2 separate regions of the Homo sapiens genome follow, and region 1 is linked to region 2. Evidence: promoter capture Hi-C in 16 types of primary human blood cells and fetal thymus (Javierre and others, 2016). All regions are on one chromosome and are shown on one strand. The core of a region is centred on a gene start or on the middle of the fragment in contact, and the rest is flanking DNA. Distances in the headings are between cores, read along the strand shown. Region 1 holds the start of NELFCD (negative elongation factor complex member C/D). Region 2 holds the start of VAPB (VAMP associated protein B and C).

Evidence for each region. Contacts are between HindIII fragments. The CHiCAGO score rates a contact against its expected background, and 5 or more counts as called.
Region 1: a contact is called between the fragment with the promoter of NELFCD here and the fragment with the promoter of VAPB in region 2, in 6 of 17 cell types (monocytes, naive CD8 T cells, non-activated CD4 T cells and 3 more). The highest score is 7.8, in monocytes.

The regions. Positions count from the first base shown.
Region 1 is chr20:58,979,296-58,986,361 of GRCh38, forward strand. NELFCD (negative elongation factor complex member C/D) reads left to right here and starts at 1,961. Exons shown (of 15, transcript NM_198976.4): 1 at 1,961-2,074; 2 at 6,798-6,913. The coding sequence starts at 2,015. RefSeq lists a silencer at 1,817-2,296 and an enhancer at 2,219-2,719. The HindIII fragment of the contact is 8,660 bases long and covers 1-7,066 here.
Region 2 is chr20:58,387,878-58,395,191 of GRCh38, forward strand. VAPB (VAMP associated protein B and C) reads left to right here and starts at 1,352. Exons shown (of 6, transcript NM_004738.5): 1 at 1,352-1,640. The coding sequence starts at 1,583. RefSeq lists silencers at 1,061-1,500, 1,761-1,880. The HindIII fragment of the contact is 12,509 bases long and covers 1-7,314 here.

The sequences.
Region 1 (7,066 bases), core at 711-3,210, 590 kb after region 2:
GAGCAGCGCAGTGCTGGGCACTTAGGGAACACTCAATAAACATTTGTTGAATAAATGAAGACATATTCCCTGATAAGTTCTCCAAAAGTAGTCACTATTATCAATCTTCTGGAGCTCTTTTCTCTAATACTCTTTCCTTACTGACATGGGCATTACCTTTCTTTTTTTTCTTTATAGACAGGGTCTCACTTTGTCACACAGGCTGAAATGCAATGGCACGACCATAGCAAACTGTAACCTCAAACTCCTGGGCTGAAGCAATCCTCCTGCCTCAGCCTCCCGAGCAGCTAGGACTACAGGCGTGCATCACCATACCTGGCTGGGGGCGGGGGAAGGGGGGGGGCGGTGTCTCGCTATGTTGCCCAGGTTGGTCTCAAACTCTTGCCTCAAGCAATCCTCCCACCTTGGCCTCCCAAAGTGCTGGGATTACAGGTGTGAGCCGCGGCGCTCAGCCACGGGCGTTACCTTTCAAAGCATCCAGATTTTATGGCGTTAATCTCCCTGTTTAAAATTTTCTGTGATTTGGACACAAAGATGGGAACAACAGACATGGGGTATTCCAAAAGGCAGAAGGTGTGGAGGGGGGTAAAGGCTGAAAAAGTTGCCGAAAGGATTAGAAGCATCACGCAATATACCAATGTAACAAACCTGCACACGCACCGAATCTAAAATTAAAACAAAACAAAAACACAACAACCAAACAAAAACCTTTCCGTGATCATCAGGAGGCTGTCATATTCTCACCCCCTACTTCACGCTGGGAATCGAGCTGCGGGCTTTACAACAGCGTCAGCTGCTCCCTTTGGCAACGACCAGAGAGGTCCTTTCTCCAGAGATTTTTGTCAGCTCTGGGCACTTTTGCTTTGTGGGCCTATCTTCCACTTTATAAAAAATTAAAAATGCTACTTTCCACTGCATTCAGTACTTTTTCTTCTCTTTTCTTTTTTCTTTTCTTTTCTTTCTTTCTTCTTTCTTTCTTTTTCTTTTTCTTTTTTTTTTTTTTTTTGACACAGTTTCACTCTGTTGCCTAGGCTGGAGTGCGGTGGTGTGATCTTGGCTCACTGCAACCTCCACCTCCTGGGTTCAAGCGGTTCTCGTGACTCAGCCTCTTGAGTAGCTGAGACTACAGGCGCCCGCCACCATGCCCAGCTAATTTTTGTGTTATTAGTAGAGAAGGGGTTTTACCATGTTGACCAGGCTGGTCTCGAACTCCTGACCTCAGGTGATCCGCCCGCCTCGGCCTCCCAAAGTGTTGGGATTACAGGCGTGAGCCACCGTGCCCTGCCCTTTTTATGTATGTATTTATTTATTTGAGATAGGGTCTCGCTCTGTCGCTCAGGCTGGAGTGCAATGGTGCGATCTTGGCTCACTGCAACCTCCGCCTCCCGGGTTCAAGCGATTCTCCTGCCTCAGTCACCCGAGTACCTGGGATTACAGGCGCATGCCACCACGCCCGGCTAATTTTTGTATTTTGAGCAGAGACGGGGTTTCACCATGTTGGCCAGACTGGCCTCGAACTCCTGACCTCAAGTGATCCGTCAGCCTCGGTCTCCCAAAGTGCTGGGATTACAGGCGTGAGCCCCCACGCCCGGTCGCGTTTAGTACTTTTTACCAAAACTAAAAGAAATTAAAACACTTTCGTGGGTCCTGGACACTTCCGGAAGGATTTGTTTCCAGCTGCCAGATGAGGAAACTGGGGCTCGCAGAGCCGGCGCCGCAGGGGAGGGGCTGTGCACGAATCCAGTGGGAAACCTCTCTCCGGAGCTAAGCCCCTGGTCCACCCGGGCATCGCTCCGGGATCGACTGGGGGCGTTCCTTCCGCCGGTCCCCTTTGTTCCCAGTGCCGAGCCCGCGGCCCTGCCCTTCCTCCAGGCCCCGCCCCTTCTTCCAGGCCCCGCCTCCCGCCCGGGCCGAGGCGCGCGGCCGCGCGTGCGCCCGCCCGCCCGTCCCCGCCTCGCGCATGCGCCGCGCTCGCTCGCGGGAGGGCATGGCGGGGGCCGTGCCGGGCGCCATCATGGACGAGGACTACTACGGGAGCGCGGCCGAGTGGGGCGACGAGGCTGACGGCGGCCAGGTGAGGCGGGGCACTGGGCGCACCCTAGAGAGAATCGTTCGTCTCCGCCGCCGGCGGGCCGGCCCCACTCCCGGAGAGGCCGCGCGGCGCGAGGCTGCGGGCGTGCGGGGGGTGTGCGCGCGCACGGCCCGCGCGGTCACCGTGTGGTTCAAGCACAGCCCGCCCCGCCCCCGCCCGCCCGGGGTCCCGCGGCGCGGCCGCCGGGGTCCCCGCCTCCTCGCCTGCAGGACCTTGGGGTGGGGGTGAGGCGCCGGAGGCTCTGGCGCGGGGCGGCCCGAGGCCCCCAGTACCCCCTCGCTCCGGCCAGGCCCGGCGCCGGCCCTGCGACCCCCGCGGCGGGCGGGACACCAACGCTAAGGTGGAGGGTTGGGTCCGGAGCTCACAGACTTTTAAACAAAAATAAAGTGGAAAAACTTCACAGCAGCATCATGAGGAAAAAGTAGAACTTAGGGCATTCCTACATGTGCTTTACTGTTTTATAAACTGTACTCTTCAGCACCTTGGGCTGATTTCATCTGTTTTTGGGCAAACTGATGGAAAGGATTTTCGGGCCTTGACCTTCCAGGGTTTGGGGTGGAAGCCCAGGAGGGATCACTGTTCCACCCTGAGGACAGGGACTGCAGAGCCAGGGCAGGTAGCTCTAGTCTGGACAGTGTGTCCCCACCTTACTCTAAAGACCCAACTGAGGCGCATGATTGAAATGTAGCTTCTCACGTCCCTCCCCTGGAGACGGCCCAACAGTTGGTCTGGACGGGAGCCTGGGAACTTGCATTTTTTTTTTTTTTTTTTTTTTTTTTTTTTTTTGTGGTGGAGTTTCGCTCTTGTTGCCCAGGCTGGAGTGTAATGGCGCCATCGCGGCTCACTGCAACGTCTGCCTCTCGGATTCAAGCGATTCTCCTGCCTCAGCCTCCCGAATAGCTGGGATTACAGGCACCCACCACCATGCCCAGCTAATTTTTAAAATTTTGAGTAGAGAGGGGGTTTCACCTTGTTGGCCAGGCTGGTCTCAAACTCTTGACCTCAGGTGATCCACCCACCTCTGCCTCCCAAAGTACTGGGATTACAGGCGTGAGCCACTGCTCGTGGCCCAGGAACTTGCATTTTTAACAACAATCAAGATTGGGGATGTCTGGTGCATTTTGAAGTGGTATTATAAGGGAATAAAGGATGAAGTGGGGCTTACGTTGATAAACATGGGTGGTGGTGTGATGGCGGCTTCGGAGCCATGGTCTAAAATGCCAAGGCGGGCGATGTGTTTCTGGAACTGAAAGAAGCCCTGTGATGTTAGCTGCCTGGTGGAAGCAGTGGCAGGAGGTCAGTAGGGAGCAGGTTCTGAAGATCCTTGGAGAGCTGCTGAATGGTATGGCTTGTTCAGGAGTTTGGGGCAGGGAGTGACACGAGTAGATTTGCATGTTGGATCATTTCACAGTGTTGGAGGCTTAGGGTGGAGTGGATAGAGTCAGACTTAGCTAACTGAGAGCTTGGGCCATGTGTGTCATGCGTTATCCCCTTCCACACACAGGATTTTGAGTTGGGTGTTACCCTACTTATCTGGTAAGTGTAGAAAATGAGACGAAAAGACTTACTGACCTGCCCAAGGTCATGAAACTAATAAAGGAAGGAGAGGGGACCCAAACCCACATCCTTTGCCTCCGTTGCCACTTCGTCAAATTGCTGACTACCAAAGTGGTCCAGATGAGAAGGTGTGAATTAGCTTAGTGGTAGGTTGGTGTTTGGGGCATCTAGTATATCACCTTGAGCCTTTTTTTCTTTTTTTTTTTTTTTGAGACAGAGTCTCGCTTAGCTGCTCAGGCTGGAGTGCAGTGGCTTGATCTCAGCTCGCTGCAACTGCCATCTCCTGGGTTCAAGCAATTCTCCCGTCTCAGCCTCCTGAGTAGCTGGGATTACAGGCATCCGCCATCATGTCCGGCTAATTTTTGTATTTTAGTAGAGACAGTGTTTCACCACGTTGGCCAGGCTAGTCTTGAACTCCTGACCTCAGGTGATCCGCCTGCCCCGGCCTCCCAAAATGCTAGGATTACAGGCGTGAGCCACCGCACCCGGCCTTTTTTTTTTTTTTTTTTCTTTGAGACGGAGTCTCACTCTGTCACCCAGGCTGGAGTGCAGTGGTGCCATCTTGGCTCACTGCAACCTCCACCTCCTGGGTTCAAGTGATTCTCCAAGTAGCTGGAATTACAGGCCGGTGCCACCACACCCGGCTAATTTTTGTATTTTTAGTAGAGATGTGGTTTCACCATGTTGGCCAGGCTGGTCTCGAACTCCTGGCCTCAAGTAATCTGCCCGCCTCCGCCTCTCAAAGTGCTGAGATTACAGGTGTGAGCTACCGTGCCCGGCCTCACCTTGAGGCTTTGAGTCATAAAGTGTTAGAACTGGGGCATATAAGGGCCATCTAATCAGTACCTTCACTTTATAGACCAAGCACGTGAGTTATTTGCCCAAGTTTGTGCAGTCAGACCTAGACCCCACTGATGGGAGATTGGGGAGTCTCATGTTTGGGGAATTTTAATCATGATCCTAATTTGGCCCACTGACACCAGTGGGCTCTCATGGATGAGGGGGGTGGACCAGACGTTCATTTCATGTTTATTCTGTGACTCTGCTTGGAAGAGGTACAGAAAGTTAGGAAAGGTGTTAGGAGGGTGGCAAGAACTGGATTTTAAAAGATAGTTGGTGACCCAAATTCTGTTCGCCTGATGCCATGTTACATAGTGGGAGGTAGGAAGATGTGTAAGGAGGCCACCGTGATGTTCAGTCTGGATGGTGGAAACTAAGAGCTGCAGACATGCAAATAGATGAGTCCTGCTACAGATTGCAAATGGGGAGTGGTGAGAGGTCAGAACGGACAGGGGAAGTGGGAAGGGCACGCTCTTGCTAGAGCTGGGGCGTTTTTTCCTGAAGGAGATGGGAATCTTTAAGCAGGAGAGAGACGTCAGTTTTGTGGCTTACAAAGATCACTGTGGCCACGGTGTGAAAGATGATTGAAAGGAAGGAATAAGACTGAGACTTCAGGGGAATGTTGCTACTGCAAGCATACAAAAAATAAGGAAGAGCAGAGGCAAATGTGGAAAGAAGGACCACCTTGGATAGACAGATGGGAGATGGAACTGATGAGTCTTTGTGACAGGATGTGGGGGTGGGGTGAGGGAGAGAAGCTGAGGATGATTTTCAGGTTTGGGGGGTAACAAGTAGATATATGAAGGATACCTTTACGGAAATATGGGTTGTAGGAAGAAGATCTGTTTCTAGGGAAGAGATGTCAGTTTTGGACCTAAAGAGTTTGGATACTTGTGAGACATCTGACTGGAAATGAGAATGGAATGTTGGATACCTGAGTCTGGAGCTTAAGAGAGGAAAGACGGAGAGAGAGATCCAGGCTAATTCTAGATTGGTGAGCAGGTAGATAGCATGACCCAAGAGGTGGTGGAAGAGGCAGGTAGGTGAGTGCCCAGGGTGGAAGCCCAAGAGAACAGACAACGTGGGAATGAAGCTCGGGGTGAAGTCCGGCCTCTGTCATGCCCTTAGGGGCTCAGCGTTCCCCATGCAAATCTGGTCTGAGAGAAGACTCCACAGCTTTTACTGGGAAGTCATCGGGTTCTGTCTGCTCCCAAAGCACTGCTTTTAGGATCTTAGTCCAGATCAGGAGTGAGCAAACTTTTCTGAAAAAGGCTAGATAGCAAATATTTTAGGTTGTGCCTGTCTCTGTCTTAACTACTTACCTCTGCCCTTACAGGGGGAAAGCAATCATAGACAGTCCTTAAAAGAATGGGTGTGCTGTGTTCCGTAAAAGTTTATTTGCAAAAATAGGAGAGGGCTGGATTCGGCTCTGGGTCATAGTTTGCTGACCCCTGGCCCAGCTCTTGCCCCATTATGTTAGAGTAGGTTGCATGGAGGTCTGTCTCTCCTATTAGTTTGTGAACTTCTTTGATGGAAAAAGCCTTGTCTTGTCTTACATTTTCTTAGGTTCCTTGGTTGATGAGCATAGTGCAGACTGAATGTTCAAAAAGCATCTGCTTGTTAGTTAGGGTGGCAGTGTTAAAGTTGGACAGGGTTTGGGATCACAGTCCATCCTCACATGGTCATTAGCAGGTGAAGAAGCCTGCTTTGCCCTTAGATGGAGTGACAGGCCTGAAGTTGCTTCCACATAGAATTGGGACTGGAGTCCAGCCAGAAGTGTGGATGCAAGGCGAGTTAGTGGTCTTTACTTTCTAATGGTAAGTGATGGCTCACGCTTTCAAGAATCAGGTTGTTACTCTTCAGTGGCATGTATGAAATAAGAATAGTGAAAACAATAATAATAATAGTTTACTATTTATTGCACTGTTACGAAATGTCAGGGATTATGCTGGGTTCTTCCAAAAATTAGCTCATGGAATCCTCACAACAGCCAAATGGGAATAGGCGTTATTATTATCTTCACTTAACAGAGGAGGAAATGGACACTCAGAGAGGTTGGGTAACTTGTGTGAGCATGGAACGCGGTTTGCCAGGGAGGAGTTGTACACACCCACTCAGTGTGATCCTGGATCCCATTTTCCTAGCCACTCACTATCTGTCCAGCCCATTTCATGAAATTGTCATGAAAGTCAAATGAAATAATGTGTGTAGAATACTTTCAAAATGGGCAGCATTATACGATTTAAGGTGAGATTAGGGTATTTGTATTAATGAAAAAAATATCCTGGCTCTTCGCATTTACCAACAGCAGGAGGATGATTCTGGAGAAGGAGAGGATGATGCGGAGGTTCAGCAAGAATGCCTGCATAAATTTTCCACCCGGGATTATATCATGGAACCCTCCATCTTCAACACTCTGAAGAGGTATGTGAGAAAGGTGTCTGTATTGGGAGGAGGCTGGGGGTAATTTAGAGAAAGTTTTGTAATACACCCAGAAGGTGCTATGTAAAGCAAGAGTAACGCGAACTGAACTAAAGGCTTCAAGGGGGGGTCCCCTCTGCCACTTTTTTTTTTTTT
Region 2 (7,314 bases), core at 102-2,601:
GGATGGGTGATTAAAGTACTCCAAAGTCTTTATATTTTAAGGAAACAGGGTAAAGACATTTTTACAAATATTTAAAGATATTGGACTTTCACAAGGTAAGTATGCATGCCCAAAAGTTTGAAGTAACCACTAAAACTTAGAAATAGAGTATACAGGTGAAGAAAATCAGAATGAGAATAAAAATAAACCCTAAAGAAGAAAGGAAAGGGGAAAAAAACCAGGCAGGACAAATAGAAATAACAAAATACAATGGTAGAAATAATTCCAGATATATCAGTAAATATAATAAATGTAAATGGACTAAATGCTCCAGTTAAAATACAAAGACTATTCTTTTAAAAAACCTTTTTATCATGAAAAATTTCAAGTATACAGCAAAGTGGGAGAAACAGTACAAGAAAACCATATACCTGCGATGTAGAGTCAGCCATTGCTAGCAATTTGCCACATTTGTCTCACCTATATGGGTATGTATAGGAGACTATTAAGAACACCTATTTAACTTCCATAGTAAACATAATATAATGAAATACAATTTAAACGGTAATCATGATGTAGAGTATCCACTTTTGAGGTCAAGCAGATCTGGATTCTCCAGCAATTTTTAATTATTTAACTTACGTGTGTGGTTATTTATTCAAAAGATGTCTCTTCACTAGGCTATAGTAAAAGGATTGGAATCAGGTTCGCTTTTCTGATCATTGTATTTCTAAATATTTGTTGCATAAACAAATAGAATTTACTAGTAAAGAATTCAGCACAGTGCCAGTTGCATAGTAAACATTTAACGTAGAGTAGCTTGTATTTATTGTAGTTGCTGTTGTTATTGGAAGCATTCAGTAGAGTGATACAAAATAAATAAGCAATAATTGGTAGTTTATTATATTTATAATTATTATTTACAAGACGTCACAGTGCCTAGCCCATATCACTCACCCATAAACATTATACTTATACTAAGTACTTTCACTATTATTCAAAGTCTCTAACAGTGCCTGGCACTACATAAGCAAGAGAAAAGTGGAAGTTTATTCTAATTGTTATTATTGAATAAAGCACTTAACACGAAGCTGGCCCCCAGCGGGCCCTTAATAGTTTCCGCGGTGGCTGTCGTAGCTGGACTACAGACCCCGCCTCCTGAGCGGCCCGAAGCCCCGCCCCTTACTGCCCCGCAGTCCCGCCCCCGTGGCTTGTGCCGCGCCTGCGCACTGTCCCGGAAGGGGCTCTACGCGCGCAGCTTTAGTCCCCGCCCCTGGAGCCGGCGGCGCAGGGCGCAGCTTCCCGCCGCCAGAGCGGGCCAGCCTGCTGCGTGCGTGCGTGTGTACGACTCTGCGTGCGTGCGTGCGTGCGTGCGTGCCGTCAGCTCGCCGGGCACCGCGGCCTCGCCCTCGCCCTCCGCCCCTGCGCCTGCACCGCGTAGACCGACCCCCCCCCAGCGCGCCCACCCGGTAGAGGACCCCCGCCCGTGCCCCGACCGGTCCCCGCCTTTTTGTAAAACTTAAAGCGGGCGCAGCATTAACGCTTCCCGCCCCGGTGACCTCTCAGGGGTCTCCCCGCCAAAGGTGCTCCGCCGCTAAGGAACATGGCGAAGGTGGAGCAGGTCCTGAGCCTCGAGCCGCAGCACGAGCTCAAATTCCGAGGTAAGCCCCAGAGGCCGCCACCTTCCTGCCCGCGGCCTCCGCCCCAGTGCTGGAAGGACGGAGCCCGGCGCGGCGGGTGACGTCGGCCCTCGTCCCCACCCCGACGGCGCTGTCGCGGGGGGCGGCGAGGCCGGGCCGGGCCTTGGCGCTCGCCGCGCTCCCCAGAACTGCCCGGAGTGGCCGGGACCCGAGAGGGCTGGTGCGGGAGCCGGGGCCTGCGCCTCCTCCCCGACCCCCAGCCTCCTGGGACTTGCCTTCGAGGCACTTGTCACTTTGTAACTTACCAGTTTGTGATCCTCTCTAGTGTGAGCCTCCGCCGCTGCCTTTGCCTAGAAGTTTCTTCCCCTGCTCCGTGACAGTGTTGACCTCAGGGCTTAGTTGAGGTGTCAGCTGCTCAGAGAGGCCTGCTGTGACCACCCAGCCACCGTGCACACCTGCTGTCATTCCCTATTCCGTCACTGTTTCGTGGTCAGCACGGCACTTTTCATACCCAAAATCACTGTTTCAATACTAGAAGGGAAACTGCATGAGGACAGGCTCTTGTCAGTTCGCTGCTGTGTACCCAGCACACATTATACGCCTAGTAAATAAATACCTGTTGAACCAACAGATGAACATGTTGAACCAACAAATGAACCTCCTCAGGACTTCTGATGGGATTGGGCCCATTTTCCTTTCACTGCGTCCCTCATGCTGTCTCCTGGTTGCGGTGCAAGGAGGCTGCCACGGTGCTGGGATCCTTTTTCTCCGCAGAGCTGTCTGGAGCAACACCTGCGGCGATGGGAAGCCATGACCCTGGTTTCTCCCAGATACTATTACCTCTGTAATTTGTGCCTTTATGTTTTCTATGTTGTTACTTTTGTTTTTTTTTTTTTTTTCCTACCTTCACCAGGGCCACGAGGTAAAAGTTCTTGTCTGACATGCTCATTCTTTCTTTTTGCGTGTATCCAGTGATGTGGGAGGCTCTGGGGAGGTGATGGATGCACAAGACAGATAAGGCCTCTGCTCTCACAGAGCTTACCTTCCGACGAGGACAGACAAACCAACACACAAGATCATTGCAGATAGTGCTAAGTGCTGTGTAGGAAATGGAACAGTCTGACTCCATGGAAGCGTACTTTAGATTGGAAGGCCGGGTCTCCACTATATCGCTAGCACCGGACTCACAGTAGATGCTCAGTTGGTATTTATGAATGAATGAATGGCCAGAGGCTCTCCAGTTTATATGTCCTATTGGGAAGTAGTGTAGGGTAACTTACCCAAAGTTACCCAGTTGGCAAATGGTACATTTGAACCCAGACTTCAGAGTTCACGCTCTTAACCGTTTTGCTGTCTGATCGCTGGGAAATACTCCAGAACGGTGGCTGTCACTTTGCCTTCCAAGTTAACAATGTGAAATAACTCTGAATTTACAGAGAACCAAAGGCTTTCCAATTAAAATGAAAAAACCGAAAAACCCCACCAAACCTACCGTGGATTGTAATTCCAGGATAGTACTTGAGCTTTCATGATGTTCTCATGGCCTTCTGGGGATGCCAGATTGGGAAAGAAGTCCAGGTAGCTAAAGTGAAAATAGTGAGCCTTAGTTTCCACTTGAGTTGTCTGAAGTTCTTTCTCTATCTGGGAGGCCTGGCTTGGCTTCTCCTGATAATTGGTGGGTTCATTCGGTTAGTCCACAAACATTTACTGAGTACCTGATCTGTGTGTCAGATACCCAGAGAAGCCAAGTTATATCAGCTGTACTCTCCTATTTTCCCTCAACCTCCTCCCAGTACTTTAGGGAAGGGGGCAGATGAGAATAACAGCCAGGACAGGACAATGATGTAGGGTAGTCCAGAGTGCTCCAGGAGCATTGAGGAGGTCAACTCCTGAAAGAGGTGTCATTTGAGCTCAGTTATAAAGGTCGAGTAGAAGAAGGCTCAAAGAAGGAAAGGGTGGGGAACATTTCAGACAGAGGAAATTGCATGCACAGAGGCACAAACACTGAGATGACTGGGCTCCTTTGGGATGCCACTAGTAGTTTTTTTTTTTTTGAGATAGAGTTCTCACTCTGTCACCCAGGCTGGAGTGCAGAGGCGCCATCTCACTGCAGCCTCTGCCTCCCAGGTTCAAGTGATTCTCCTGCCTCAGCCTCTTGAGTAGCTGGGATTACATACAGGCATGTGCCACTACGCCTGGCTAAATTTTGTATTTTTAGTAGAGACGGTGTTTCACTATGTTGGCCAGGCTGGTCTCAAACTCCGGACCTCAAGTGATCCGCCCTCCTTGGCCTCTCAAAGTGCTGGGATTACAGGCGTGAGCCCGGCCACCACTAGTGGTTCTGAATGACAGCAACAAAGAACATTTGTTGTGGTTGCCTGGCAAGATGGGAGACAAGGCTGGTGAGTAGACAAGAGTCAGATCTCAGTCCCTTTATGCATAGATGCAGCCAGTGTCCAAGTTAAAATTGTGTTGCTTCTCCTTGAGCAGTCCTTCCTTGCATTAACTTTCTGAAAACCCCCAAATCCCAGTACAAACTCTGTTGTCTAATATGTTATGGAAAGAGGCACTCATTTGAGAAAATTTAAGATTTTGTTCAATTGTTTTACTGAAAGATGTGTGACCTTAGGCCACTTCACTCCTCAAAGCCTGGGGTGGTTATTCGGTCAATGGGGATGATGCTCGTGTCCACGTTGCCTCTTGTAGAACGTGTTTAGAAGGAATGACATGGCTGTTAGTGGCTTTGTAAGTGCATAGTACTATACAGAGATTAGACAACCACTTAACTACTTAAGTGGTTTCATCACTTCTGTACCTGAAAGGTGTGGCAGAGAATAGCGATCATTCTGGCCCTGGATTGGCCAAAGTAATTATGCCAAAGTCACTGGATATTTTTGCTAGGGAAGTGGTCCAAGAGAAGTGGTACCAAATTGTTGAAGGCCTCTGGCTCATAACTTTAGAAGAGACATCTGTGTGTGTTCTTAAATGACGTCATGAGGTGTGTTGTTTGTTTGTTTTAAACTGAATGCTAAGACAGTACAATTAATAGAGACTGAATACCCTGACTTAGAGATAATTCATTTCAGGATGAGAAATGGCACATTTAACTGGTTTCTTCCAGGTTACTCAGGGTGACGACTCTGATTTCTGGTCGTTCACCTAGATGAACCTCTGAGCTAACTTTACTTGAGAAGGTAATAACTAAAATGCCCATTCAAAGGAAAAATTATCTTTTAAATGCAGCCTAAGTTGATCGTATGGGATTGTATATTGTCAGACTCTTTAATCTTGGGAATTTTGTGTGGTATGTTAAATTTAAGGATGTTACAGAAGAAAAAGAATGCAAATTTATATGACTTTATGCAGTTTTATAGGAAGTACTATGCTGCATCATAAATATCAAAAGGAGAAAGCCTGGTGGCTTCCTGAAAGAAGCATGACACAGGAGGATTTGCCTAGACTTAAGGTTGACTTTCATGAGATATTTTTAGTAAGTGAACATTAAGCTCTTTCAGACTAGGGGTATCTTTCTGAGAGAGTAAATGTTTTTGTTTTTTGGCAGGGTCTTGCTCTGTCACCCAGGCTGGAGGGCAGTGGTGCCATCATAGCTCACTGTAGCCTCAAACTCCTGGGCTCAAGAGATCCTCCTGCTTTAGGTTCCCTGGTAGCTAGGACTACAGATGCCACCATTCCTGGCTAATTTTTAAATTTTTTTGTAAAGATAGAGTCTTGCCATGTTGCCCAGGCTGGTCTTGAATTCCTGGCCTCAAGCAGTCCTCCCGCCTCAGCCTTCCAAAGTGCTGGGATTACAGGCATGAGCCACTGCATGCAGCCTAAGTGTGTGTTTTCTTTTATATTTCTTTTTGTCTTTTTCACTAAGTCATAGGAGTTTTTTAAAATTGTCACTCTTTCTGTTGATCTCAGTTCTTCCAAGTCCTAATCGTTTCCTTGCCATCTCCTCACTCTGAGATCCCACTTGTTGTCCAGCTCAAAGAGAGCTTTCCGAATGAGTCACTTTCAAGGCATTATATAGCACTCTTCTTTCATTCCCTTCTCCCTCCCCTTCCATGAGAGTCCATCTGTGGTAAATAGTATGTCATATATTTTTTGGTCGTTCAGGACTCTAGATCATTCCTTACATCCTAGCCCATTCCCCCAGCAATGATACTGTCACATGGAAATGGTCTGTTGAACATCCATCCTCACTAGGTTAAGGTTTGTTTTGTTTTGTTTTGTTTTGTTTTGTTTTTTTTGAGATGGAGTTTGGCTCTTGTTGCTCAGGCTGGAGTGCAATGGCGCGATCTTGGCTCACCGCAACCTCCGCCTCCCGGGTTCAAGCACTTCTCCTGCCTCAGCCTCCCGAGTAGCTGGGATTACAGGCATGCGCCACCATGCCCGGCTAATTTTGTACTTTCAATAGAGACAGGGTTTCTCCCTGTTGGTCAGGCTGGTCTCGAACTCCCGACCTCAGGTGATCCACCCACCTCGGCCTCCCAAAGTGCTGGGATGATAGGTGTGCGCCACTGCACCCAGCCGGTTAAGGTTTAAACATAACTGTGGATGCATTTACTTTTGCTTTATTGCTTGACTGAACCAATGACCTTCAAGAAGTCTTAGATAGTCCTGCCATTAGTAGGGATCTCAGATGGGAGGGCACCAATGAATCAGTGTAGTTGAGTACCACTTTTGGGAGAAAATAGAAACTTGGACACTCTAAATGATAGTTTAAGGACGTTGTTTGTTTTGTTTTGTTTTTTGTATGGGAAAAGTTGGCTTAGACTCTTTAGTTCAGCCCTTCAAGTTGATGTGTAATTTAAGATTGTTTAGGAAGTTAAAAAATCTAAAGCCCTGTGGATATAGTTCATTCAGTGCAGTAATTATCTTTCAGATGCCAAGTACAGCATTAATTCTTTAGCTTTAGCATGGCACTGATTTTCTTAACACTTCATGATCACGTGGAGCAGACTGTGCTTTACAGCACAACAGAGCGTCAGCCATGTGCTGAAGATTCTTCGTGGTAGTGGTTTAGATCCACCCTGAATAGATTATCTTCATTTATTTAATTATTAAGTAGCTTGCTTATCAAAAGCGGCATTAAACTTACTAAACTTGAGTCAAACGTAAATCTTCATAGATAGTACCATTTACTTCTGAAATCTTGTTCCTGGGAGAAAAATGTGGACTGGAAGTTAACTTTCTTTTATCCACCTATTCACTCCTTTTTCTTCACAGTTAACTCCTTAGGGGAAAAAATGTATAGTTCTTGACCATGTGCTTATGTTTGTAAAGCAATGATGTTTCCTTAACGTGAGTGGTTGTGACATAGATCACTGTTATCTTCATAATTACCTGGGAGCTTTTCATCCAAGTGTGGATTTACTAAAATAATTAGTCTGAATTGATGCTTATTAAAGAGCTGAACTCTTAAACGTTAACACTATCTTGTATTTATTAAAATTGTATGCATGTTTCCTTCAAATGCTGAAGGCAGAATACTGAGAACTTTGACCCTGTGTTATTATCGCTAAGTAGTTGAAAATTAGGGGAGGAGTCAAGGGAGTATATTATATTGGTTATCACTCAAATACTACCCCTAGGCATGATTTTTAGAACCGAAACTTGAATTTTTACATAAAGAATTATCTCCAAAAGTGTCTTTTTTTTTTTTTTTTTTGAGATGGAGTCTTGCTCTGTT